Linked DNA regions of Homo sapiens: region 1 is linked to region 2. Evidence: promoter capture Hi-C in human tissues and cell types (Jung and others, 2019). All regions are on one chromosome and are shown on one strand. Each heading gives the region's core, a stretch centred on a gene start or on the middle of the fragment in contact. The rest is flanking DNA. Distances are from core to core; before and after follow the strand shown.

Region 1 (5,136 bases), core at 1,810-4,309, 200 kb before region 2:
GTTTTTTTAAATAATGGCAGAAAATAATAAAAACTCGATACAGCATATCAAAATGTATGTTAGCACTAAGATTCAGATTTGTGAACCAACATGCAATGGCAATAGTTGATGCCACTGAAGAATTTAGAAAATAAGTACAAAAAAGAAAGATATGGTGATGCTGCTGCTGCAGCTGGGTCTGCCGTTGATATGACAATGATAGCTATAGTCATACAACATTTACTATTTGCCAAGTAGTATTCTAGGTGCTTTATTTACATTAATTTAATCATCACAGCAACCCTATATGTGAGGTAAGCTCCATTTTATGGAGGAGGACACTGAGCCACCATCAGAAAGAGTAACCTGCCCCATGTTACACATCCAGCAAGAAACAGATTTTTAAGCCTACAGGTATGGATACACACACATATATACATGTGTGTATATATACAATTAATATCACCACTGTCATCAGTTTGGATTGCGTCCTTCCAGAGAGGAAAAGGTCTGCAAGACAATGTAAGCTGGTGAGAGTGTTTTTTGTTTTATTTTTTTCCAAAGAAAAGACTAAGATTGGGGTAATGTTCAATCAGTACTTTCAACTTGTCTCTGTTCTTTGAATTCTTTACAAAGAGGAAGGCAAAAACTTGCATAACTATAAATGAATGAAGCAACATGATTACTTTCAAATTAAATCTACATATTATGGAGAAAAAATGTAGAATGTACATACATAAACCTGTAATTAATGATTTTTTCATAATTCAAATATTTGGAGATAACCACTATTGAAGATGTGTTAAATTCCCCTCCAGCCTTTACAGAATCTTTCATATCTTATTCCAAAAATTCACATTATATTTGAGTTTTACTTAGAAGTCAAACAAATAATATTATGTCCTATTTCCATTTCTTTAATTAATAAATACTTTTCAATCTCTTTTCAATATCCTGTGCTACCACATTTTGGATGCCGATCCTTTCCTTAGCCCCAAGGTTTGCTGATTTTTATTTAGACATCACTGGACTGAAGAGATGTTTACCAGACTCAGTTCTGTTTGGAAACAAGGCAGGCAATTTTCTGTTTAACTACTCACTGTCCACTTGGCTCCTTTACTTTTATACTCTCACATATTTAGCCAATGTAAATTTCTATTATCTCAACAGTGATTTAGCCACTTAAGGAATGGGAATCCTATAGAAAGTTCCCAAAGAAAAACACCATCAGTGAAGAGTTTACTTGCTTGTTATTTTTCTCTTTTCTTTTTTCTACGTTTGCTAAAGCTGCTATACTCGGGGTCAGGTTTTTGTTTGTGGGTTTTGTTTTGTTTTGTTTTTTATAGCCTTTTTCCCTACAACTGTATGTTTAGACCATCCTCTACATCATGTAGAGTTACGTGTTTTCACTCAGTCCCCTTCCTGATGTTCCTGGCCAGGAACCCTCCACCCTCCTGAGAGTTTACCAGAACTTCTATGCCCCCCATGAGGAAGCACTGCTCTGTCAGGTAGAAGTATTTGAACTTTAGCACTTTCCTCTAATTCTGCAGCATAGCTAATAAAACATCCTTGGAATTTCCAGTACATTGTAGCAACTCTCCTTCTTAGTAGCTTGTGTCGATGAAGTAGTCCAAGTTGTGAGGGTGTAGATATGAGGGACTGGGGAAACCAGAAGGGGAATACAGAGAGAAGAGACTGTTGGAACTGAGAGCCAGAATTTGAGCAGCTCTGTAATGGTAAAGCCAGAACAAGTATGATAAGAATAGAATAAAGCTGACACAGCAAAGAGACGTCCAGTTACTGCCCATACTAACCATCAAATCAGAAAGAGACAGGGTAGTGGAGTACCTTTGTACAGGACCTTTCTGACATGGTGACGGGGTATTGGATTGAAGAAGGGACAAAACCAAAAGTAGGACCCCAAGGGTTGGATTAGAGCTCCTGAACAAAAATCTGAACACTTGGAACATGAAAGAGCCCATTAGGTATCCACTTCTGACAGAAAAAGGGTATAAAGTAAAAGTGTCATCACAATAACAAAGCATCAGTTATATGAACTGGCTTAGGTCACAGAAGAATTATAGCAAGACAGACTAGATACTGCCTCCCCTGATGTATTCAACCAAGGCTTTGTTAATTTGAGTTAAGCAAAGGTTTATTTGCACAGCCTGATAGATAGCCTATGATTGATTCCAAATCAGGGTTGAAATAAAAGCAGTTCACTAAAGACATTATATAAGAAATAAACATTTAAATTATGATTTATAAATGATTAGTATAGAAGAGGAAACAGTCAAAGAGTAATTAGTCCAGAAAGCTGGAAAGATCATCATATATATACTTGCATATATGTGATCTTGAATTTTCAATATTGATTTTAAAAATTCAAAAAAAATTTAAAGAGTATTCAAATATTTGAACATACCAGTTTTAAATTTAAAAGTCAACATAATACTCAATTCTATTCAGAAGCATCTTTTATTGATTTATATTAATGCAACAACTATTTAAGGGTCTAGCAATTAATAGTTTATAAATAACTAGGTTAAGTTAAATAACGTTAAGTAAAATAATGACCTGATATATATATATATATATATATATGTTTATTACATGTTTTCAATGAATGATTTCAATGACTGCTGCCAGCATTATGTTGAAGCATGAAGATATAGTTAGAAATGACAGTCTCTTGAGATACTAATTCAAAATTAAGTTTTGTCTTAAGTACAATTAAAATCCAAATTAATCATTGAAGTAAGTAGCTTCATCTGATAGAGGTTGAGATAAGCTTAATAGAGGAGATAATGTGTGATCTCAGTCTTGATGGATGAGTTAGGATGTTCCAAACAGAGAATAAGGATAAGAGTTTTCCAAGTAAAGGAATCAGCATAGTGAATGCATGGACAAATTAGAGAATATAGTCTTTGAAACATGGCACAAAATCTCGTGATTGTCTCTTTGGTCTCTTTTGTTGGAGAGTAGAGTCATGAAGGAAGCATAGGATCTGTCTCTTCCTCTTGTCAAGAGGTCCTCCCTCCTTTGTCAACCTGAATGTGTAGAGTTTTATTTGTTAAAAGAATGGTTATCTTACATTGTCTCTAGGGAATTACTTTAGGGATAAATGTCCAGTAAGCATAGAAAATGTGATTATAGATTTCTAGATAAAGACCAATTATGGGAATATGATTTTGGAGCCATCCAACAGAGGGTAGATGTAGCTATGTAAAGAAATAAGAATACCAAGGAAAGCATGCAATGTTGGAAAACACGGACCAAGAAAAGAATTCCTGCAATCATCAACATTTAAAAGGCTAGGAAGGCAGAATATTCAGCATTTTTTTTTTTTTTTGAGATGGAGTCTCATTTTGTCACCCATGCCAGAGTGCAGTGGCTCAGTCTCGGCTCACTGCAAACTCCGCCTCCGGGGTTCAAGTGATTCTCCTGCCTCAGCCCCCAGAGCAGCCGGGACTACAGGCACACATCACCACTCCTGGCTAATTTTTGTATTTTTAGTAGAGATGGGATTTTGCCACGTTGGCCAGGCTGGTCTCAAACTCCTGACCTCAGGTGATGCGCCCGTTTTGGCCTCCCAAAGTGCTGGGATTACAGGCGTGAGCCACCGTGACCAGCCTCAGCATTTCAAAACTATGGGGAAAACATGGTCCTAAAAATGAAAGGAAGAAAGCTTCTATTTGAAAATTACTAACACTGTCAGATGCAGCAAGGAAGCAGTGGAGGAAAATGAGTTAAGGAAGACATTTACCAACTAGAAGGCTGTAGGTAACAATAACCAGTCCGTTTCAACAAAGTGATAGATGCACCTTGAGTGGAAGAGTAAATGGAAGTTGAGGAAGCAAAGATAGCAAATACAGACTATTCGTTCAAGACATTTTAGAAAATGCTGGAGTCAATAAATCAGCTTGTAGGTTAAGTAAGCTTGAGGCAAAATTTTTGTTTGTTTTATAATTTTTATTTCAGAATAGAGAACTCTAAAACATTTTTATATTCTGGAAGGTAGAGGTGGATAGAAAAAAAAGGATATTTGGTGGATTAAAGTAATGAAGAAACAAAGAGATGTCATCAAGAGTATAGGTGGGGCCGGGCACGGTGGCTCACGCCTGTAATCCCAGCACTCTGGGAGGCTGAGGCGGGTGTTTGGCCTGAGGTCAGGAGTTCAAGACAGGCCTGGCCAACATGGTGAAACCCCGTCCCTACTAATAATACAAAAATTAGCTGGGCGTCCTGGTGGGTGCCTGTAATCCCAGCAACTTGGGAGGCTGAGGCAGGAGAATCGCTTGAACCCAGGAGGCAGACGTTGCAGTGAGCCAAGATTGCGCCATTGCATTCCAGCCTGGGCAACAAGAGTGAGACTTCATCTCAAATTAAAATAAATAAATAAATAAAAAGAGTATAGGTGGAATAAATTATCTGAGAAAGAAGAGTGAGGGCTTCATCTGAGAAGGGGAAAGGTAGCACCAAATATTTAAATTTAGAAGTGAAAGAGAGAGGGAAGTTATGGACTTTTACTTTACGGCCTCCATTTGCCTTTTTAAATAGGAGATATTTCAAATGCTTTGAGTTAGAAAAAGGTGAAGGCAGCATTGGAGACTTAACATGAACAAAAGTAGCATCTTGTGTACACTTACTACATTCCAGTCCCTAAGGCAGCTGCTTTCCCATTTATGATTCAGAAAATCCATGTAACTTTGACAAGCTACTCATTAAAATGGAGTCTTAAGTTTATAGGTAAGGAAACTGAAGCTCAACGTGGATATTGACTCAGGGTTACACAGTTAGTGTGTAGCAGACTTTGGATTTGAAATTTCATGTTAGTCCTAAAGCCTGTATTCTTTCCACTACATTAATCTATTCCCATCCACCCTCCAGAATAGTAGCAACTTGGACAATGCCAAGAGTTAATTAAGGGCTAAAAAAGATTGACCACATGTATATAGGCTCATCTGAATAACAGTGAAGGCATCTTACAATTGTCTCTAATGATATTCAGCAGTTTCAAACAGCAGTGGAGAAAACAAAAGTTTCAACAGAACCAAGGCCAATGAATTATAAAGGTGAATACACAGATACACAAAGAACCAAGTAGTTTGTGGTGACGTTTTGTGAATACCACTGCAGTGAGGTCTCCCCTGTGTC
Region 2 (5,286 bases), core at 2,586-5,085:
CCAATATTACCCTATTGAGCTGGGATAAAGTTAGCTATAATGCATAACTATTCATGAACTTTTAAATATTTGCCTGATACAGCCAAACTCAACTCAAATCTTGACTGAAAATTTTTACAAAGCAGGACAGCATCTTGCCATTTTAATCTTTGCTACATTTTTACTTATTAATGTAATTTACCTTGTAACTAGAAAATACATTAAAAGATTTATGTATTGCTTCAACAAGAGTAATTATCTCATCATTTTATCCACCAGGCTTGCCCTAAGCCAGTATATTTTCTTAATATTAGTGTGCAGTGAGATATTCAGTTAGAAGAGAGAGGGATTCAATATTACCCCATTGGGGCACAAGGCAGTAGGAAATCAACTAGAAAATATTCCACACCTCTTACTACCCTTGTACCTTGTCTCCTTCTCTCTCTCTCTCTCTCTCTCTCTCTCTCTGCCTTTTCTCCTCTTTAATCCTAATGATCCCTTCCTTTCCAGCTCTAGTTAAGAACATGTCATTCCCAGAAATAGTAATGGAGAATGAAGGGGAGAGGAAAAGGGCAAATCTCTGGACATTTTTTTTCTGAACATATTTTTATATAATTTAACTCACGCTCTGTATATGATAAACTTTCTCCTCCTCCTTGGGAAGAAACAATAGGCTTGTGTTTTCATCTTAAAAGTGAAGAATATGAGAAAAATGCCTGCCTTTCTCCCATACAGCTTAGATCATTAACTGTGAAAAGAATTTCTGAATTATTCTAGTAGGCTATCTCCAGGGAGCCTCCTGGATTTCCTTGCTAGTGGTCAGGCAGCGGTACAGAGATGCTATATGACATATACCTAGTGCCTCTTATATTGAAAGATTATATACTCATTTAAATATTAATTACTTAATTCACTCGCTACTGAACACTTGTCGTTACTGACATTAGTCAAGTCAGCAAAAGATTAATCTGTAATATCTTATTCCTAGTTTTTGAAGACTTCTAAAATATTCACTGAATTCCAGAGTCTAGAGAGATAAATGGGCTGTTCATATTGTATTGGTGGGACTGAATATCCCTCCTCTGACAGTATATATGCTCTTCTTTTCACTGAGGCCCCTGAGGTGCAGTAGGCATTTGCTGCTTCAGGTAGCATCTCCAGTGTGATCTCTTAACTGACTTTACTAACTAAATTGCACAAGTAGGAACATTCTATTTTCAGGTAACTCTCTCTATTCTGCCTTTGTATAAAAACATCATATTGTGCATTTTCAGCTGGTTCCATTAAATTCAAAGTTAAGGGAAATCCTGTGGGAGTTTTCAGTCTATTGTACATATAGATACTAGCGGTTTTACTCTCACACCATATGACACCACTCATAACATCAGTTACAATTATTTCTTTGAATATAAGTGACATAATAAAGATGAACTCGATAATAGTATTATGCATAACATTTACTTGTATCAGAGAACTTTGGTATTTTTTGATCAAATTATTAACTCTCTTATGAAATATTAAAATGTGACCTGTTGGAAAACACACTGATATTGAACCATGAAAACACAAGTACCCCAATAATAGGGTATAAAATGTTAATACTAGATATAACAGAATTGTAGCTTGCAAAAACTGGCAGCTTATCTACTTGTCTACATAAGAAAAACAATCAATTATATTTTTTTGCATTTTTATTTGTCCATATTCCATCACATCAAATTTGTACATGTTGACATCTTTGATGATAAACTTCTTAGAAATAGGCATTTTGATACATACCATGATACATCTTCCCAAGTTAAAAGATTAGTGTTAATTCTGGGCACTATATTTTAAACACTTTACCAATTTAGTATCAATGGATTTCTTAAATTTATATTATCTACTGGATAGTATTATAGGAAATCTATTTAAACTAAGAAAACATCCACTATTCTAAAAATGAAAAAATTTCTATAGTCAACATTTACTGAAGATTGTCCAATAAAAAGACAAAAAGGCCAAACGTGTCACATAAAATTGAGGACTCCCTTTTTGTTTCTCCTGATAAATATTCTACCTGTACTTAGAAAATACAAGCTTCTGTTCTTTCTACAGTGGGGGACAATTTAAAAGCTTACACAATTGAAAAATGATTCTTATGTAATCCTGAGTATTACATCTGCTATCTGTCTCAATGTGTCAATGGCTAGTGATAATAAATACTTCTTTGCTGACAATTTATTCCGAATTTATATTAAGTCAGCAAAGTCACTTTCTCTGAGCATGGTTTTGTTTATTATTTGTTTGTTTACAGGAGGAATTACCAAACCTATTCATGACTGGCTTGTATTGGTCCTGATGCAAAATCTATCTTTTAATCATTTATTTATGAGTATGATGTTGCTTTACAAGACAATTGTAGAATGAAATATTTAAACATTTGCTGTTAGATCTTCATTAAGGCAATATAAATTTACACTACAAATGCTAGTGAATACTAATACTTTAATCCATATTAGCCATTTTACAAGCATTGTCATAAACTATTTTCCTTTGCCACACATGAAAAAATTCTAATAATCAATTCAACTGGAAAACTAATTTATATTAGTTGTTAATCATTTTAATTACATGATGATGACAGTTATGGGTAGGGCATCATTTTTCTCCTCGGGATTTTTATTTTCTCCTCTTACCTCCATTATGGAAACAAAACAAAACAAAAACAAAAAGAACAAATTGCACCCCTATTTCTATAGCCCTTTCCCAGCATCCTTGTTTCTCATATGCATAAACTGATATTTAAATATCTACTGTTAACTTGGTGGATTCAGCCTCTCAAGGCTATTTTCAACCTGCTTCCTCCCTTCCTGTGTTCCGCGGGCTAGTGAGTGAACTCCTTATTGATAAAATCCAATGTTTACAGACAAAAATAACATCTCTAAGTTGACATGTGATTTTGCACTGTTTTCAGATGAGGTGAGTATGACACATTAATCAGAGGTACTTAGAATTTTAGGTCAGTTTTGCAATAAATTTTTCAGGTGCATTTTAAAGGTCTTTGAAGACCATAAGCCTATGTTAATGTTAAACGACTTTTTTTTTCTTTTTTCTTTTTCTTTTTTTTTTTTTTTAAACAAAAGGATCTGGAAAGGTAACCTACCTTTATGTGACAGGCGTAACCGGGGGTGGGTAGTATCAGCTGTATGACCTCCTGTCCAAAGCTCCAGTAAGTAACCCCACAGGAGCAAGGTGATAATGTGCCCCGCGGATGCCATGCTGCCGTGTTCACCGTCCAAGCCCTCGCTCCTCACTTTAAGGAGGGTCTGAGTTTTACTTAGGACTTCCCTCCAGGGGCAGCGTGCGAGAGGCTTTGTCAGAAATCGAACGCGTTGTCATCAGAAAGCACAGTTCCGAAGTGCCATTTGTCAGGCTGTATTTGGCTATGTAAAACCTTTCTTTCCTCGGGACAGTTGTTTATAAGCCGGGAGCAAGAGGACATTCCAAAGAGTGAGTCTTCAGAGCCATGTCCTGTCTAGAGCGCTCTTCAGCAACTACGCCGGTAGATTCAGGAAGAAGCTGTATTTTTCAGTCACTTGGGCAAAGCTGTTCATTCAGAAAAAAAAAAAAAAAAGAGAGAAAAAAACAAAACCGAGCACACGCACTCCCTTCTCCCGTGGAGGTCCTCTCTTCGGGCTCCTGGAAGCCTCTCAGAAGTCAGCCTCTTGCACTGACTTGCCAAACTGCTAGTTTTAATTCACCTTTCACCTTGCTAATTAAAAACAAGAAGTGCCATTCCCTCTAGGAGTCGCAGGATCCACCCAGCAGGGATGCAGTCTGTCAGTGGCTGTTTACAGGAAAGTTCAGGCAGGGTTGAGCAGCGTACTTGCTGTTTCTAGGAAGTATTTCTGGTCCACGTGCCTCGCTCCCATCCTCCCTCCCAGTCATAACCAGCCCCACGTTACTCAGCAGCAGGAGAGAAGTCCACATTTTGATGGGGGAAATGGGGAGTTCGGGAGGGGTGATGACATAGACTGATTATTTAAGAATAGGTGACAGACAAGGATGTGGCATCAGAAAGCGCTTTTAAATTCTTACCAAGATAAATTGACCTAAGTTGAATAAATCCAACTTCTTTTGAAAATAATCTATTTGTAACCATCCAGAATCCAAATTCTGTTTTTCACTGTTGCCATAAGGTTTTTTTCAAAATTAAGTCTTTTTCTATTGCTTATATCTTAGGGATGTTATTTTTAAACTCTTTTAAGAAAAGTGTGTTTCAAGAGCCTGAAAAAAAAAAGTTCATCTGTGACTGTCTCATAAATTTGATAGAAATGATAAATTATTTACTTAAGCAAATTGGTCAAATGAAATTAAAGGCAAATCCTTTGTCCTAAAGCAATTCCTAAATTTTACTTCAAATTTAGGAATGTTGAAGTAATTTCCCCCAGGTAAGGTAACTGGCAAAGTTGAGATTCACCACCCAAGGGATTTCTATAAAGCAGGTATTAGAAAACTTAGGATGTGCAATACCTTAGGATTCAACTGCTATGGACTTCCAGAGTTGATTTTCCAAGGCACTGTGTTTGTGTAAATAAGCTTAACACAATAGGTCAACTTTACAATCTACCTTCAATCAATCTCAAAAACTAAGCCAAACACTCAGGAGCTGTTGGCATGGAAATGAATGGTATTATGTTAAGATACCAATAAACTTGAATAGATATTTGATTTGATAGTGGAGAGTTAAATGGTAAACACTGATCTCAACTATGATAACTTTTTCTTATTCTGTATTTTAAATGCTAATAGTTAAAAACTTTTTGAGAATTATGTTTTAAAATCACGAAACTATAACAAAAAGATAACATGTGTCACCCTGATATTTTTGCATTATATAGAAGCATATGTACAGCCAGGCATTCTCTACCCATTTTTCTAATCATGAGATGTTCTTGTACAAGCAGAGTATATTTAGCAAAATGTAAATGTCACTGGACATTATAAATAATTAGATTTCCAAGGTCTACAAAAGATAGCAAACTCTAAACATTATTTAACAGTAAAATGACATGAAGTTATTTAGAGACTTTTAACCTGGAATGCTTGCATATTTTAAAAGCCAGTCTGATGAGCTACAGACCTAAAGGTTGCTCTAAATGTGATACATTGTACCTTCAAAATTCTCTTTTGCTTTCTTCTAGGATGGAAACAAATGACAAAATAAATAGCAGCTCTTATATGTGTTATCTAATAGTAGGATTATAGGAAAAGTAAATGTGGTGCCTACACCTTTTATTGCAAATTCATGGCTACTCTCACATA

What was found. The method cuts DNA at HindIII sites, captures the fragments that hold promoters and counts their contacts. A contact is called where the count stands out against the background at its distance.
Region 1: a contact is called between a fragment that was not itself captured here and the fragment with the promoter of SEMA3E in region 2, in 2 of the 25 tissues and cell types used here (spleen and stomach).

The regions. Positions count from the first base shown.
Region 1 is chr7:83,441,358-83,446,493 of GRCh38, forward strand. All of the region lies in intron 4 of SEMA3E (semaphorin 3E), which reads right to left. Among named protein-coding and RNA genes, the nearest start is that of SEMA3E, 210 kb to the right of the region's middle. The HindIII fragment of the contact is 4,069 bases long and covers 1,026-5,094 here.
Region 2 is chr7:83,645,304-83,650,589 of GRCh38, forward strand. It overlaps SEMA3E (semaphorin 3E), which reads right to left and starts at 3,836. Exons shown (of 17, transcript NM_012431.3): 1 at 3,125-3,836. The coding sequence starts at 3,239. The HindIII fragment of the contact is 5,454 bases long and covers 929-5,286 here.